2 separate regions of the Homo sapiens genome follow, and region 1 is linked to region 2. The links are contacts of gene promoters, found by promoter capture Hi-C in human tissues and cell types (Jung and others, 2019). All regions are on one chromosome and are shown on one strand. The core of a region is centred on a gene start or on the middle of the fragment in contact, and the rest is flanking DNA. Distances in the headings are between cores, read along the strand shown.

Region 1 (6,844 bases), core at 2,516-5,015, 1.1 Mb after region 2:
GAACAAAACCTCTAAACAAAACACTTGATAAAGTTTTAGTTGAAATAAAATGCTAAGAAAACAAAAATTACAAAATGTTTAAAGAAACTATTAATAGGCTAGGCACAGTGGCTCACGCCTGTAATCCCAGCACTTTGGAAGGCCGAGGCAGGTGGATCACGAGGTCAGGAGTTCAAGACCAGCCTGGCCAAGATGGTGAAACATCGCCTCTACTGAAACTACAAAATAATTAGCTAGGCATGGTGGCGTGCGCCTGTAATCCCAGCTACTTGGGAGGCTGAGGCAGAGGTGGAGGTTGCAGTGGGAACCTTGAACCCCGGAGGCGGAAGTTACAGTGAGCTGAAATTGCACCACTGCACTCCAGCCTGGGAGACAGAACAAGATTCCATCTCAAAAAAAAAAAGAAACTATTAATAATCTAGTGTCCCTTATAAAAGACACTGAGGTAAGCCTAAGCACAGAGCTCACTCTTTCTGAGCCTCAGTTTCATTATCTGTAAAATGGAGATAATATCACCAATCAGAATTGCTGTAGGGAGCAAGATAACAAGTAAAATACTTAACATACACTATTCATTAAATAAATAGTAGCTCATTATTTATAAACATATCTTTCTTACATAGAAGTGTCTGGGGTTCATGGAAATTTTCAAAAAATTATTCTTTAATATATTAATCAATATAAGCCCATTTTAATAGGGTGACAGTCCAGGGAAATTGCACGTAATAGCAAAAAATATATTACTCAAAACAATATTGTTGTCATAAAAATTACCTGTACAGCAGTTTTAAACTGGGCTATGATTTTGTGCCTATAAAATATGCTTAAGAAGGAAAGACAACATGTTTAAGATAGCCTATTTTTACAAAGCTTATATTTCTGGCCTCTCCACACGCTAAAGACCACAGATTAAATCTTGCCTGCCCTTTGCAAGTCATTCCCAGGGGTAAAAAAAGGAAGGATACCTTTGCCCTCACAAAGTGCTGTTTTCATAGTGGAAAGTTTCCCACATCACTCTTGAGATGGGATGCTGATAAAGCATTGCTGATAAGAATCAAGTCCCAGACCCAGGAAACCTTCTATAATATTTCTCTCTCTTATCACAGGAAGCAGTAGAACCAGGCTTCCCTAAGGCAATTTCCCACAAATTCAGAGATCATGTTAAAATTTGCCCATACTGGCCCACTCAGCGTAAGTATCCAACCTCATCAATGGTATCATTCAAAATAAAAATAACTTTGCTCAGTTTCCTCACATTGCACTCTCTCAAACATGCATCATGACAGTGGATGGACTGTGGAATAGGGATGGAAAAAGATATCAAAGAATTACATGCTCTAAACCTGAAACTCCTTTTTTAAAGGAAATGTTCCATATGCCATGTTCCATATGTAAGCAAGTAAATCATTACTTAGTCTTGTGCTAAACTTTGTGCCCCACATCCTAACTGGCATGGAAAAGCAGCTTTCAGTGGGGAGGTACAACAAACCCTTTCTTTATTTTCCTCATTATACTCAGGTTCCCTTCGCCATATTTACTCAATGAAAACAACTCAAGCTGATCCATAAATCATTAATGGGACTTGGAAACTTTTCAAGATTAGCAACAGGAAATAGACAATTTCCCAGAGGCCCCATCCTCTCTATAATCAAGGGATAACATGATGTATTATTTCTCATGGGCTATTTGGGAACATCTCATACAAGTTATCATTTTTATGTTAACAAATAGCTTTTTAGGCTGCTACCAAAAAACATAAGAAAGCTCACAGCCTAGGTTCTCTAAAAAGGGAAGATACAACCCCCAACCCTTTTCAAGCCAAAGGCTAAGGAGTTGAGAGGCAAGGGTGTGTTCCAGAGAAAATCTTCTCTCATCAGATTTCAAGTGGGTCATTGATTGTCATCACAATCCGAGTCTCAAAGAGGCATGAGAAATGGGATAGTATAGAAGGCTGAGGTATACCATGCCTAGGAACAAGTGTTCAGAGCAGGGGGTGTGATCTCTCCATCACTCACCAAGGTTGAGAAAAGTAATGCCCTTTGTCATGTGTGACCCAACATTCTCAAGAGAAGTGGTGAAGGTCTTGCTGTGTCCTGCAAAGAGAGAATATGAAGCCAGAGAATGTTAAACAAAGAACTGGAACTCCACCCAAGGCAGTGACTATGTAACACACTATATTTTCAGTGACCATGAAACTGGTAAGCAGGCATCTTCAGACTTCTAGATTTCATGGTTCCCCTCATTCTCCAAAAACCAGCATTGAAGGCAGATTATCTGAGTGCAGTCACACTCCAGTAGTTGCTCTGGGCTTATTATAATCTTAGACCATGACAGGTGGATTGTTCAGGGAGGAGAGGATCTGAAGGAATTTACTTAAAGATCCAAGAGATAGAGATGACCACATGGCTCATTGGCCCACATTCCTCAAGGCTCACCGCCACACACGTGCAGTCATTAAGACCCTCTGAGACTTCTCCAAATCACTTACAAATCCCACTTTTAGGTAGGAAGGGAATTAGTCGAGCTAATAACCTCAGTATATTGGCCTTTCCTCTCTACTTTCTAACTCTTAATCTTCAGAAAAGTTTTATTTACTGCCTTTGATCAATAGATTAACCATTAGAAAAATGTGTGAAAAATTTTCCACAAAAATCTCAAACTTATACAACTTAAGTATGAATAGAATATATGTCTAGTTCTGAAGTTACTTTAGCTTCTCCATTAAGTTCTTAAACTTTTTTACCTTAATCTCTAACCTGAGGAGGTAATATCAGGTCCATCTATAGAATAAGCAGCTCTGGTGTGGCTTGGCATAATTGTTTTTAAATATTGGAAAAATCTTTATCTTTAAAAAAATTTAAATACACCCATAGTATATACTGCACAAATACTCATTTTAAGGAATTAAACAAGCAAAACAATAACTCCTTAGCATGGTTCAAACTAAAACTACTACAGGGCACACTGTGATTGACTACAGAACCAGGAGAAATTAGTTAGGCATTTGACTGCTTCTCCCTAGATTGTTTATCAATATCTTGGGCCATAGATGTGTGAAATGGAATAAATGTATCTTAGATCTAAAACCTGTTGAGGTCTGAGATCATGGATGCTTTTAACTGAAACCCTATTTAACTCTGTAAGTTAAATCTATAGATACTTTCCAAATAGCGATAACTAAAAAGCAAATAAACACACTTTGGATAAATACCTTCCTTAGGATTGGTCCACAAGCCTAGAAAAATATATAGGCCAGGATAAAAATATATGATATATAAAAATAACTAGCTAACTTGATACTCACCATTGACAACTTTCTTCAGGAAATATATATCCTGTAAGTATACAGATATAGAATGAACTGATAAAAATTGATTCCATGGTAATAATACTCTCAGCCGGGCATGGTGGCTCATGCCTATAATCCCCACACTTTGGTAAGCTGAGGCGGGTGGATCACTTGAGCTCAGAAGTTCAAGACCACCCTGGGCAACATGGTGAAACCCCATCTCCACAAAAAATACAAAAATTAGCTAGGCATGATGGCACACGCCTGTAGTCCCAGCTACTTGGTGGGCTGAGGAGGGAGGATCACTTGAGACCATAAGGTTGAGGCTTCAGTGAGCAGTATTCATGCCACCGCATTCCAGCCTGGGTGACAAAGGGAGACCCTGTCTCCAAAAAATTACTAATAACACTGTTAAGAGCTATCTAATTTGCTACTATTTGGAAAAAGTTATTATGTAAAAGTAACAAAGAAGACATGAAAAGTACCTTTATGAATGTAAAACACTGAATATGTGATTTGTCCCCAAGAGGCACACTTCGGGCTGTAACATACACACAAACTTCCTAGAAGAAAAAGGATATTTAGTAGAGTTTAACAGAATCTATGTCATAAATAAAGTTTCCTAAACCACTTAAACTTACTTCTATTCCTTTAGATGTCCTGTCTCATCTTACCTCATAGATTATTCCCAAGTCCTAGAAGTGGTCTATTAACAAGTTGCTAAGAAATTTCAAAGCAGTAATTTTTTAGTGCACACTATATAGCAACATATTGTGGCAGGCTATTGAAGGATAGGAAAATGAACACAGATATACTCCTGCATATGAAATAATGGGGTTCTAGACAGTTTCCAAAGCTTCATGAGATTCTCCTAGTAAGCATGCATTGTCCTCCCTTATCTAGCTTGTCACCTTGCAATTATTACTAACAGCTGTGAACACCAGTTTATCAAAAATGTGTTCATTTCACAGAAAGTTACCAGTCTCTAGTTTATCTTGATTGAAAGGCAAAGTGTGATCTATCTTATGGGTCAGTGAAAACAAATGTGGCATGTGAGTCCATATCCATCCGTAACTGAGTCACTGAAGGCATTGGCCCAAGGCCAAAGGAGAGCTCTTGGCATAGAGTGGCCTTTCCAGGTGAGTCTTGACCCCCTTCACTTACCCCATCACTCCAGAACACCCTCAACTTTCCCCACCTCTCTCAACGCATGAAACTGTACATTATCTCTAGCAGCTGCTGCTGTATGGACTAATGTCCATCAGTGACCTACATACAATTGAGGACAGTATGCTTAAACAGGTATGTCTATCATTTATGTGATTAACTGAAATAGGAGATTGACAGGTAGAAAGTAACTTGACAAGGAGTCAGGAAACCTGAGTTCTAGCCCCAGAGCTAACGTTAACTAGCTGTGTGAATTCAATCGCTACTCTACTTCAGTGGATTTCAATGTTTCCTCTACTTTCCTTCATTAGTTTCTTTATCAAAGAATCGTGGTAGAAAAAAAGTCAGTTTCCCCTAAGAGGGCTATTCAAGGACATTTATAAGTATTCTGTTATAATATTTATCAATTATGACTTTTTAATGACATTTAACACTGCAAAGTATTGTCAGCAGTACATTTTATTGCAATTATCTTAAACACAAAATAGCAAAAAAGAATAACTTCATCAGATAACATGGTAACAATTCTATTAGATGTAAAATGACTGTTACGGTTACTGAGCACACAATAACAACTTTTCTTTACAATTACAGCTGACTCATGACTCACTGAGAATAAAAGTAATCTATCACTAAAGTATAAACAAAATAATAATTATAAGAGTTACAAAAGTCTCATATACCACTTGGACTGCTTTCATACAGTAAACATTATCAGCAAAAAACTACTTGTTTATCCATTCTTTTATATACTATAATCACAAGGAACATGAAATTGCTTAAAAAAAAGACTTTAGATTCTCTAGTAATAAATAAAAATTAAAACAAGGTACCATAATTTTCCTTTAGAAGTAGTTTTTTAAATGATAATGAAATACTGTCAAGGGAGCATGTGCTTCTTACACAATTCTCAAATAGTAGTGAATGAGTCAACTAACACAATATCTCAGAAAAATTCTTTCACAGAGGGTTAAATATATTCATACCTGTTCACCCAGTAATTCTTTTAGGATTCTATCCTGGGAAATGAACATGATGGCAACATAGATCATAACCTCCATTCTAGCAAACTATCTGCACTCCATCCTTTAGAGAATGAAAGTTTTTCTCATTTTGAAAAAAAGTAAGATGTACATTCTCAGTAAACTATCACAAGAACAAAAAACCAAACACCGCATATTCTCACTCATAGGTGGAAACTGAACAATGAGAACACATGGACACAGGAAGGGGAACATCACACTCTGGGGACTGTAGTGGGGTGGGGGGAGGGGGGAGGGATAGCATTAGGAGATATACCTAATGCTAAATGACAAGTTAATGGGTGCAGCACACCAGCATGGCACATTTATACACATGTAACTAACCTGCACATTGTGCACATGTACCCTAAAACTTAAAGTGTAATAATAAAATAAAATGAGATGTAGAATAAATGTACCTAATTACATATTCTAAGAACCATATCCAGAACTTATAAGCAAATATTTCCAAATTGTTAGGTCATGCTTAGTTGCCCCACCCAATCCCAAAGGGAAAAAAAGACACAGCAAGTTGAAATGGTATGTACACAGGCTCTGTGAAGCTATCCAACAGAACTGTCTTTGACAATGGAAATGTTATATACCTGTATAGTCCAATATGGTGGCAACTAGCCACATGTAGTCACTGAACACTCAAAATGTGGATAATATGACTGAAGCACTATTTATCTGAGACAAAGTCTCACTCTGTTGCCCAGGCTGGAGTGCAGTGGTGCAAACATGGCTCACTGTAGCCTTAACCTCCCAGGCTCAAACAATCCTCCCACTTCAGCCTTCCAAATAGCTAGGACTACATGTGTGCCTGGCTAATTATTTTATTTTTTTTAAGAGATGGAGTCTATGTTACCCAGGGTGGTCTTGAACTCCCTGGGCTCATGTGATCTTCCTACTTTGGCCTCCCAAAGAGCTGGGACTACAGGAATTTTTTTTAACTTCTATTTTCAGTTCAGGGGTACATGTGAAGGTTTGTTATATAGGTAAACTCATATCACAGGGGTTTATTTTTACAGATAATTTCATCACCCAGCTATTAAGCCTGGTACTCAATAGTTACTTTTTCTGCTCCGCTCCCTCCTCCCACCCTCCACTCTCAAGAAGACCCCAGTGTCTGTTGTTCCCTTGTGTTCAGGAGTTCTCATCATTTAGCTCCTACCTGTAAGTGAGAACACTAGGTATTTCGTTTTACTGTTCCTGCGTTAGTTTGCTAAGGATAATAGCCTCTATCTCCATCCATGTTCCCACAAAAGACATGATCTCATTCTTTTTTATAGCTGCACAGTATTCCACGGTATGTATGTACCACATTTTCTTTATCCAATCTGTCACTGATGGGCATTTAGGTTGA
Region 2 (7,693 bases), core at 5,194-7,693:
AACAGCCTGGCCAACATGGTGAAACCCCATCTCTACTAAAAATACAAAAAATAGCCGGGCATGGTGGCGGGAGGCTGAGGCAGGAGAATCGCTTGAACCCAGGAGGTGGAGGTTACAGTGAGCTGAGATGGTGCCACTGCACTCCAGCCTGGCGACAGAGCGAGACTCTGTCTCAAAAAATAAATAAATAAAAAAGGAAAGGAAGAAAAAGTGACTCTGATAGGATACTTTGACGCTCTATAAAGCACATATGTCCGGGCATGGTGGCTCATGTCTGTAATCCCAGCACTTTGGGAGGCCAAGGTGGGTGGATCACGAGGTCAGGAGTTTGAGACCAGCCTGGCTAAGAGAACAGCCTGGCCAATATGGTGAAACCCCATCTCTACTAAAAATACAAAAACTAGCTGGGCGTGGTGGCAGGTGCCTGTAATCGCAGCTACTCAGGAGGCTGAGGAAGGAGAATTGCTTGAACCTAGGAGGTGGAGGTTGCAGTGAGCCAAGATCACACCATTGCACTCCAGCCTGGGTGACAGAGCAAGACTCTGACTCAAAAACAAACCAACCAAAAAAAACAAAAACAAAAAAACCACATAGAACTGGGTAATTCTGATTATTCTAAGGCTCAGTATCCACAATTAAAGGCCCTCGCAGTCACCGTGAGCGCTTACTGTGCACCGAGCACTTTACACACATTCACGCACTTGAAACTGACCACAATGCTGTCAGACGGGCAGGGGCGTTGCTAGCTCTACTTTGCAAATAGGGACATGTGGGCTCAGAGTGGTCACCAGGACAGCAGCACCCACATTCAAGCCCAGCCCTATCTGTCCCCAAAACCCAGTTTCTGCCCTACCACCCACCTCACCCCCATGCTGCCAGAAACCACCCATCTCCTCTCCCTTGTGGGTGATCTAAAAGTCGTCCCTCAAGAACTGAGCCCTTAGCCAGGCTGGTCTTGAACTCCTGACCTCAAGCAATCCACCCACTTCGGCCTCCCAACGTGTTGGGATTACAGCTGTTAGCCACCGCGCCCAGCCCGTGGTGGTGCACGCCCGTAGTCCCACCTACTCAGGAGGCAGGAGAATTGCTTGAACCTGGGAAGCAGAGGTTGTAGTGAGCTGAGATTGTGCCACTGCACTCCAGCCGGCGCAACAGAGCAAAACTCCATCTCAAAAAAAACAAAACTGAGCCCTTGAAGATGAACGTGAATTCCGAGGGAGTGAGCAGAGTGTGTGGGTTTGGTGCCTTGAGTTGCACAATCTCTCAGGCAGCAGGAATAGATCCAGTCCGTCCTGGTTTCAGGCAAGATGAAGGGAGCTTGTGTCTACAAAGGGCTGGCAGCTCCCATCCAGAGCATGGCTGGGCCTGATAGAGCCACACCTGGAAGCATTTATAACCACACCTGACAGCTCCCTCTGGGGTGGGGCACCCCCAGCTCCCGTCTGGGCCAAGGTGAGCAGGCAGAGGCAGATGAGGGCCCTCCCTGGCTCCTGACCTCACCTCGACTTTATACAGCTGGGGATGGGTGGGGCTGGGAGCACTGGGGAGCAAAAACCTGGGGCTTTCTGATGCTGTCCCATGGGGTGTCAACCAGGAGCTCCCAAATGAGACCCACTGGGCTCATGACAATGACCCAGCCAGGGAGGTGAGGTAGAAGGCAGGGGTCCTGTCTGCCTCCCACCATTGGCTCCCGAGAGCCCCAGGAGTTCAGAGGCCTTTCCAGGAGTGATCTCAGATTCATGGTCCAGCCCCAGCTCTTCCCTGATGGGGAGCAGGTGGGTAAGACAGAAAGGCATCTAGGGCCGGTGGCTCACACCTGTAATCCCAGCACTCTGGGAGGCGAGGCAGGTGGATCACGAGGCCAGGAGATCAAGACCATCCTGACTAACACAGTGAAACCCTGTCTCTACTAAAAAAAAAAAAAAAACAATACAAAAAATTAGCCGGGCGTGGTGGTGGGCGCCTGTAGTCCCAGCTACTCTGGAGGCTGAGGCAGGAGAATGGCGTGAACCCGGGAGGCGGAGCTTGCAGTGAGCCAAGATCGCACCACTGCACTCCAGCCTGGGTGACAGAGTGAGACTCCGTCTCAAAAAAAAAAAGAAAGAAAGAAAGGCATCTAGGTCGGGCGCAGTGGCTCACGCCTGTGATCCCAGTGCTTTGGGAGGCCTAGGCAGAAAGATCTCTTGGGGCCAGGAGTTCAAGACTAGTCTGGGCAACATGGTGCGACACCTGTCTCTACAAAAAATTTAAAAATTAGCCAAGTGTGGTGGCACACATCTGTAGTCCCAGTGACTCAGGAGGCTGAAGCAGAAGAATCACTTGAGCCCAGGAGGTCAAGACTGCAATGAGCTATGATCACTCCACTGCACTCCAGCCTGGGCAACACAGCGAGACTCTGTCTCAACAAAAAAAAAAAAAAAAAAGGAGAGAGAGAAAGGCATTTATGAGCTCTCTCTCAAAAAGGAAACTGAGGCTCAGAGAAGGCATGAGGACTTGCTGCTTCCCCAGCTCATCAAGGTGAGTGGCCTGGAGTCTGCCCCGATTCTGGGCCTGGGCAGGGCAAGACTTCAGTGGCCTTGGCTCCCCATAGAAGTAGGAGGAGTGGAGCCTCAGTCCCAGGATAGGGACAGCAAGTACAGTGGGACAGAAGAAGTGGGAGGCCCTGGGTACTAGAGAGGCAGGAGGTTGGCTCTGAGAGCACTTTACCGGAGACAGCAGAAAGCCATTTAATCTCTGTGCACAGCAGTTTCCTTGTCTAAAAACCAGGGATAACAGGGCCGGGTGCGGTGGCTCACACCTGTAATCCCAGCACTTTGGGAGGCCGAGACAGGTGGCTGACTTGAGGTCAGGAGTTTGAGACCAACATGGCGAAACCCTGTTTCTACTAAAAATACAAAAATTAGCCGGGTGTGGTGGCTCATGCCTGTAATCCCAGCACTTTGGGAGGCCAAGGCAGGCGGCTCACTTGAGGTCAGGAGTTTGAGACCAACATGGCGAAACCCCGTTTCTACTAAAAATACAGAAATTAGCCGGGTATGGTGGCACATGCCTGTAATCCCAGCCACTTGGGAGTCTGAGGCAGGAGGATCGCTTGAACCCAGGAGGCGGAGGTTGCAGTGAGCTGAGATTGCGCCACTGCACTCCAGCCTGAGTGATAGAGTGAGACTCTGGCTCAAAAAAAAAAAAAAAAAAAAGACAAAAAAAAAAAAAACAACAACAACTAAAACAGGGACCTAAGTCAGGGGAGAAGGAAGGCTGGAATGGCCATGCCTACAAAGACAGGAAAGAGGGAATGTCAGGGTTGTGGCAGGAGCCTAGGGCAGCACCCTCCCTCCAAGCTGGGAGATAGGAGCCAGGATCCCATTGGTGTTTAGATGGATGAGGTAGGGTCAAGGGGCAAGCTCCAGGCTCTAAGCACTTCTGTGCAGACTCTACTACTTGGAGCTCCCCTCTCCCTCTGTGATGTGGGCATCAAAATCTGCAGAAAGGGAAACTGAGGCCTAGAGAAAGGAGGGGATTTGCCCAGAATGACACAGGAAGTCCAGACTAATTCAAGTTTGCGGCATTTGAGGTTCCTGGCCAGTGTTTCTTTTTCTTTTTTGTTTTTTCTTTTTTGTTTGAGACAGAGTCTCGTTCTGTCACCGAGGCTGGAGTGCAGTGGCGCGATCTCAGCTCCCCGCAACCTCTGCCTCCTGGAATGATCCTCGTGCCTCAGCTTCCCCAGTAGCCGGGATTACAGGCACCCATCACACCTGGCTAATTTTTTGTATTTTTGGCAGACACGGGGTTTCGGCATGTTGGCCAGGCTGGTCTTGAACTCCTGAACCCAGGCAATAAGTCTGCCTCAGACTCTCAAAGTGCTGGGATTACAGGTGGGAGCCACCACGCCCGGCCAACCAGTGCTTCTTAAGGAAAGATACATATAGTAGGAGATGTGACAGTAATCTTCCTCCTGGCCCCTCTCAGCACTGTGCCATGGAGGTTCTGATCTGGGCCAGCTGCGCTGTTAGGGGAAGGGGGAAAATGGCCAAACCCCATGTATTCTCCTTCCTTTTCCCTCTCTTCAATCCCAGGCAGGTAACAATAATTATGATGTACCAGGCTCCGGGCCAAAGTCATCACCTGCATTAGGTCACCAAATCCTCAGGCCAACCCATTACAGTCATGAGTCACTTAATAACAGACACATTCAACAAATTCCTTGTTAGGCAATTTCATCATTGTGGGAACATCTCAGAGTGGACTTACACAAACCTAGATGGTCTAGCCTACTACACACCTAAGCCATATGGTCTAGCCTACTGCTCCTAGGCTACAAACCTCTACAGCATATGACTGCACCAAATATTGAAGGCAGCTGCAACATGAGGGTAAGTATTAGTGTTTCTAAAGATAGAAGATGGCCAGGCGCGGTGGCTCACGCCTGTAATCCTAGCACTTTGGGAGGCCCAGGCGGGTGGATTACTTGAGGTCAGGAGTTCAAGACCAGCCTGGCGAACATGGTGAAACCCCATCTGTACTAAAAATACAAAAATTAGCCAGTGTCGCGGCACTTGCCTGTAGTCCCAGCTACTCAGGAGGCTGAGGCAGAAGAATCACTTGAACCTGGGAGGTAGAGGTTGGAGTGAGCCTAGATCAGGCCACTGCACTCCAGCCTGGGCGACAGAGGGAGACTCCATCTCAAAATAAATAAATAAATAAATAAATAAAACATAGAAGATGTACAGTAAAAACACGGTAATTGTTTTTGTTTGTTTGTTTTGAGACAGGGTCTTGTTCTGTCATGCGGACTGGAGTGCAGTGGCACCATCAGGCTCACTGCAGCCTCGACCTCCTTGGCTCAAGTGCTCCTCCCACCTCAGCCTCCTGAGTATCTGGGACTACAGGTCCACGCCACCATGCCTGGCTAATTTGTTCTGAATTTTAGTAGAGATGGGGTCTCACTGTGTTGCCCAGGCTTGTTCCAGCCTTCTGGCTTCAAGTAATCCTCCCACATCAGCCTCCCAAAGTGCTAAGATTACAGATGTCAGCCACTGCACCCAGCCAGTAATATAATTTTATGGGACCACCTTCATATTTGCTGTCCCTTGCTGACTTACACATCTTTATGCAATGCATGACTGTTACCATCATTATCATCTCTATTTTCCAGATGGGGAAACTGAGGCACAAAGAATCTAACTTGCACAAGTTCATCTGCTTAGTGATGGAACAAAGATGTGAATTCAGGCAGTCTGGCTTCAAAGTCCACACGCCTAACAACCACACCAGATTACTAGATTGCTTTTTTCTTTTTTCTTTTTTTTTTTTTGAGATGGAGTCTCACTCTGTCACCCAGGCTGGAGTACAGTGGTGAGATCTCGGCTCACTGCAACCTCTGCCTTCTGGGTTCAAGCAATTCTCCTGCCTCAGCCTCCCCAGCAGCTGCGATTACAGGCGCCCGCCACCACACCCAGCTAATTTTTGTATTTTTAGTAGAGATGGGGTTTCACCATGTTGGCCAGGCTGGTCTCAAACTCCTGACCTCTGGTGATCCTCCCACCTCGGTCTCCCAAAGTGCTGGGATTACAGGCGTGAGCCACCACGCCCAGCCCAGACTGCTTTATTTTTGTATTTGTATTTATTCATTTACTTATTTTGAGACAGGGTTTTGCTCTGTAGCCCAGGCTGAAGTGCAGTGGTGCAATCCAGCTCACCACAGCCTCTACTCACCGGGGTTCAAAGGATCCTCCTGCTTCAGCCTCTGGAGTAGCTGGGGCCACAGGCATGCACCACCATGCCCAGCTAATTTTTAAATATTTTTTGGTAGAAGTAGGGTCTCACTATGTTGCCCAGACTGGTCTCAAACTCCTAGCCTCAAGGGACCCTTCTGCCTTGGCCTCCCAAAGTGCTGAGATTACAGGCATGAGCCATGCACCCAGCCCCTTTTTAAAATTTTTTTGAGAGACAAGACTTTGATCTGTTGCCTAGGCTGGAGTGCAGTGGTGAGATCATAGCTCACTGCAGCCTCAACTCCTGGGCTCAAGCACCAGACTCCTTTTATCACATTCTATCTCACACGCGTGTGGTTCCAATCCTGCCTCTGCCACTTCTCAGTTGTATGCCCCAACCCAACCTGTCTGGCTCTGTCCTCCTTAACAGAAGGACGGCCCTGGCCACGGGCCACAGCCAGCAACGCTTAAGCACCAGGGCCGGCGAGTGCCCTGCCGTGGCACGGCTCCAGCGTCGCGCTCTCGAATTCATTTGCTTTCCTTAACGAGAGAAGGTTCCAGATGAGGGCTGAACCCTCTTCGCCCCGCCCACGGCCCCTGAACGCTGGGGGAGGAGTGCATGGGGAGGGGCGGCCCTCAAACGGGTCATTGCCATTAATAGAGACCTCAAACACCGCCTGCTAAAAATACCCGACTGGAGGAGCATAAAAGCGCAGCCGAGCCCAGCGCCCCGCACTTTTCTGAGCAGACGTCCAGAGCAGAGTCAGCCAGCATGACCGAGCGCCGCGTCCCCTTCTCGCTCCTGCGGGGCCCCAGCTGGGACCCCTTCCGCGACTGGTACCCGCATAGCCGCCTCTTCGACCAGGCCTTCGGGCTGCCCCGGCTGCCGGAGGAGTGGTCGCAGTGGTTAGGCGGCAGCAGCTGGCCAGGCTACGTGCGCCCCCTGCCCCCCGCCGCCATCGAGAGCCCCGCAGTGGCCGCGCCCGCCTACAGCCGCGCGCTCAGCCGGCAACTCAGCAGCGGGGTCTCGGAGATCCGGCACACTGCGGACCGCTGGCGCGTGTCCCTGGATGTCAACCACTTCGCCCCGGACGAGCTGACGGTCAAGACCAAGGATGGCGTGGTGGAGATCACCGGTGAGCCCCCCTGCTCCTGCAGGGGAGAGGAGGAGGCTAGCAGGGCGGGCAGGGCCGGGGGCGTGCGGTTGAAACGGGGGTCCCGGGGGCCTGGGGAGTTAAACGTTGGCCCAGCACCGGGAAAAACAGGACTCCTGATTCCCTTGCTCAGGAATTGGGAGTGCGGGTCGCTTCTAAGGGCGCTTTCTGCTCTGTAATCCCAGCGCTTTGGGAGGCCGAGACGGGAGGATCGCTTGAGGCCAGGAGTTCAAGACTAGCCTGGGCAACATAGCGAGACGCGCCCCCCCGCCCCGACCCCGCGCCATTACAAAAAAAAAGCAAACAAAAATTTTTTTAAAGATCATCGATGAAGAGAGAAAATGCGCTTTTCTACAGAGTCCCCTTCCCACCCACAGCCCCATCCCCAGATAAGCGGGGAGTTCCCTGGCGCGGTGCCAGTTTCTAGCCGCTGAGTGGGCGTGTGCGCGGCTCCAAGTGCGCCTGCGTACTGCTCACTCCCCAGCTCCGCGCCCTGCTCCGTTCCTCCCAAAACTCTGAATCGAAGAACTTTCCGGAAGTTTCTGAGAGCCCAGACCGGCGGGCACGCCCCCATCCCCAACCCCCTCTGTTAATCCCTACCAGCCTGCAGTCCTGGCTGCTTCCAAGCAGGAGGTGGGGCCTCTGGCCTAGCGGGGCCGAAAGGCAGTCCCCTCCCCCGCAGTCTGATTTCCCTCTTCCCCCCAAAGGCAAGCACGAGGAGCGGCAGGACGAGCATGGCTACATCTCCCGGTGCTTCACGCGGAAATACACGTGAGTCCTGGCGCCAGGTCGGGGTGGGTGGGTGGCGTGGGGGTGGGGTCAGGGAAG

Evidence for each region. Contacts are between HindIII fragments. The study calls those that stand out against the background at their distance.
Region 1: a fragment that was not itself captured here is called in contact with the fragment with the promoter of HSPB1 in region 2 in 1 of the 25 tissues and cell types used here (spleen).

What each region holds. Positions count from the first base shown.
Region 1 is chr7:77,358,809-77,365,652 of GRCh38, forward strand. It overlaps GSAP (gamma-secretase activating protein), which reads right to left. Exons shown (of 31, transcript NM_017439.4): 13 at 3,775-3,852; 14 at 2,016-2,093. Among named protein-coding and RNA genes, the nearest start is that of GSAP, 54 kb to the right of the region's middle. The HindIII fragment of the contact is 7,746 bases long and covers 1-6,844 here.
Region 2 is chr7:76,296,230-76,303,922 of GRCh38, forward strand. HSPB1 (heat shock protein family B (small) member 1) reads left to right here and starts at 6,444. Exons shown (of 3, transcript NM_001540.5): 1 at 6,444-6,847; 2 at 7,573-7,636. The coding sequence starts at 6,484. RefSeq lists a silencer at 3,183-3,477. The HindIII fragment of the contact is 16,042 bases long and covers 1-7,693 here.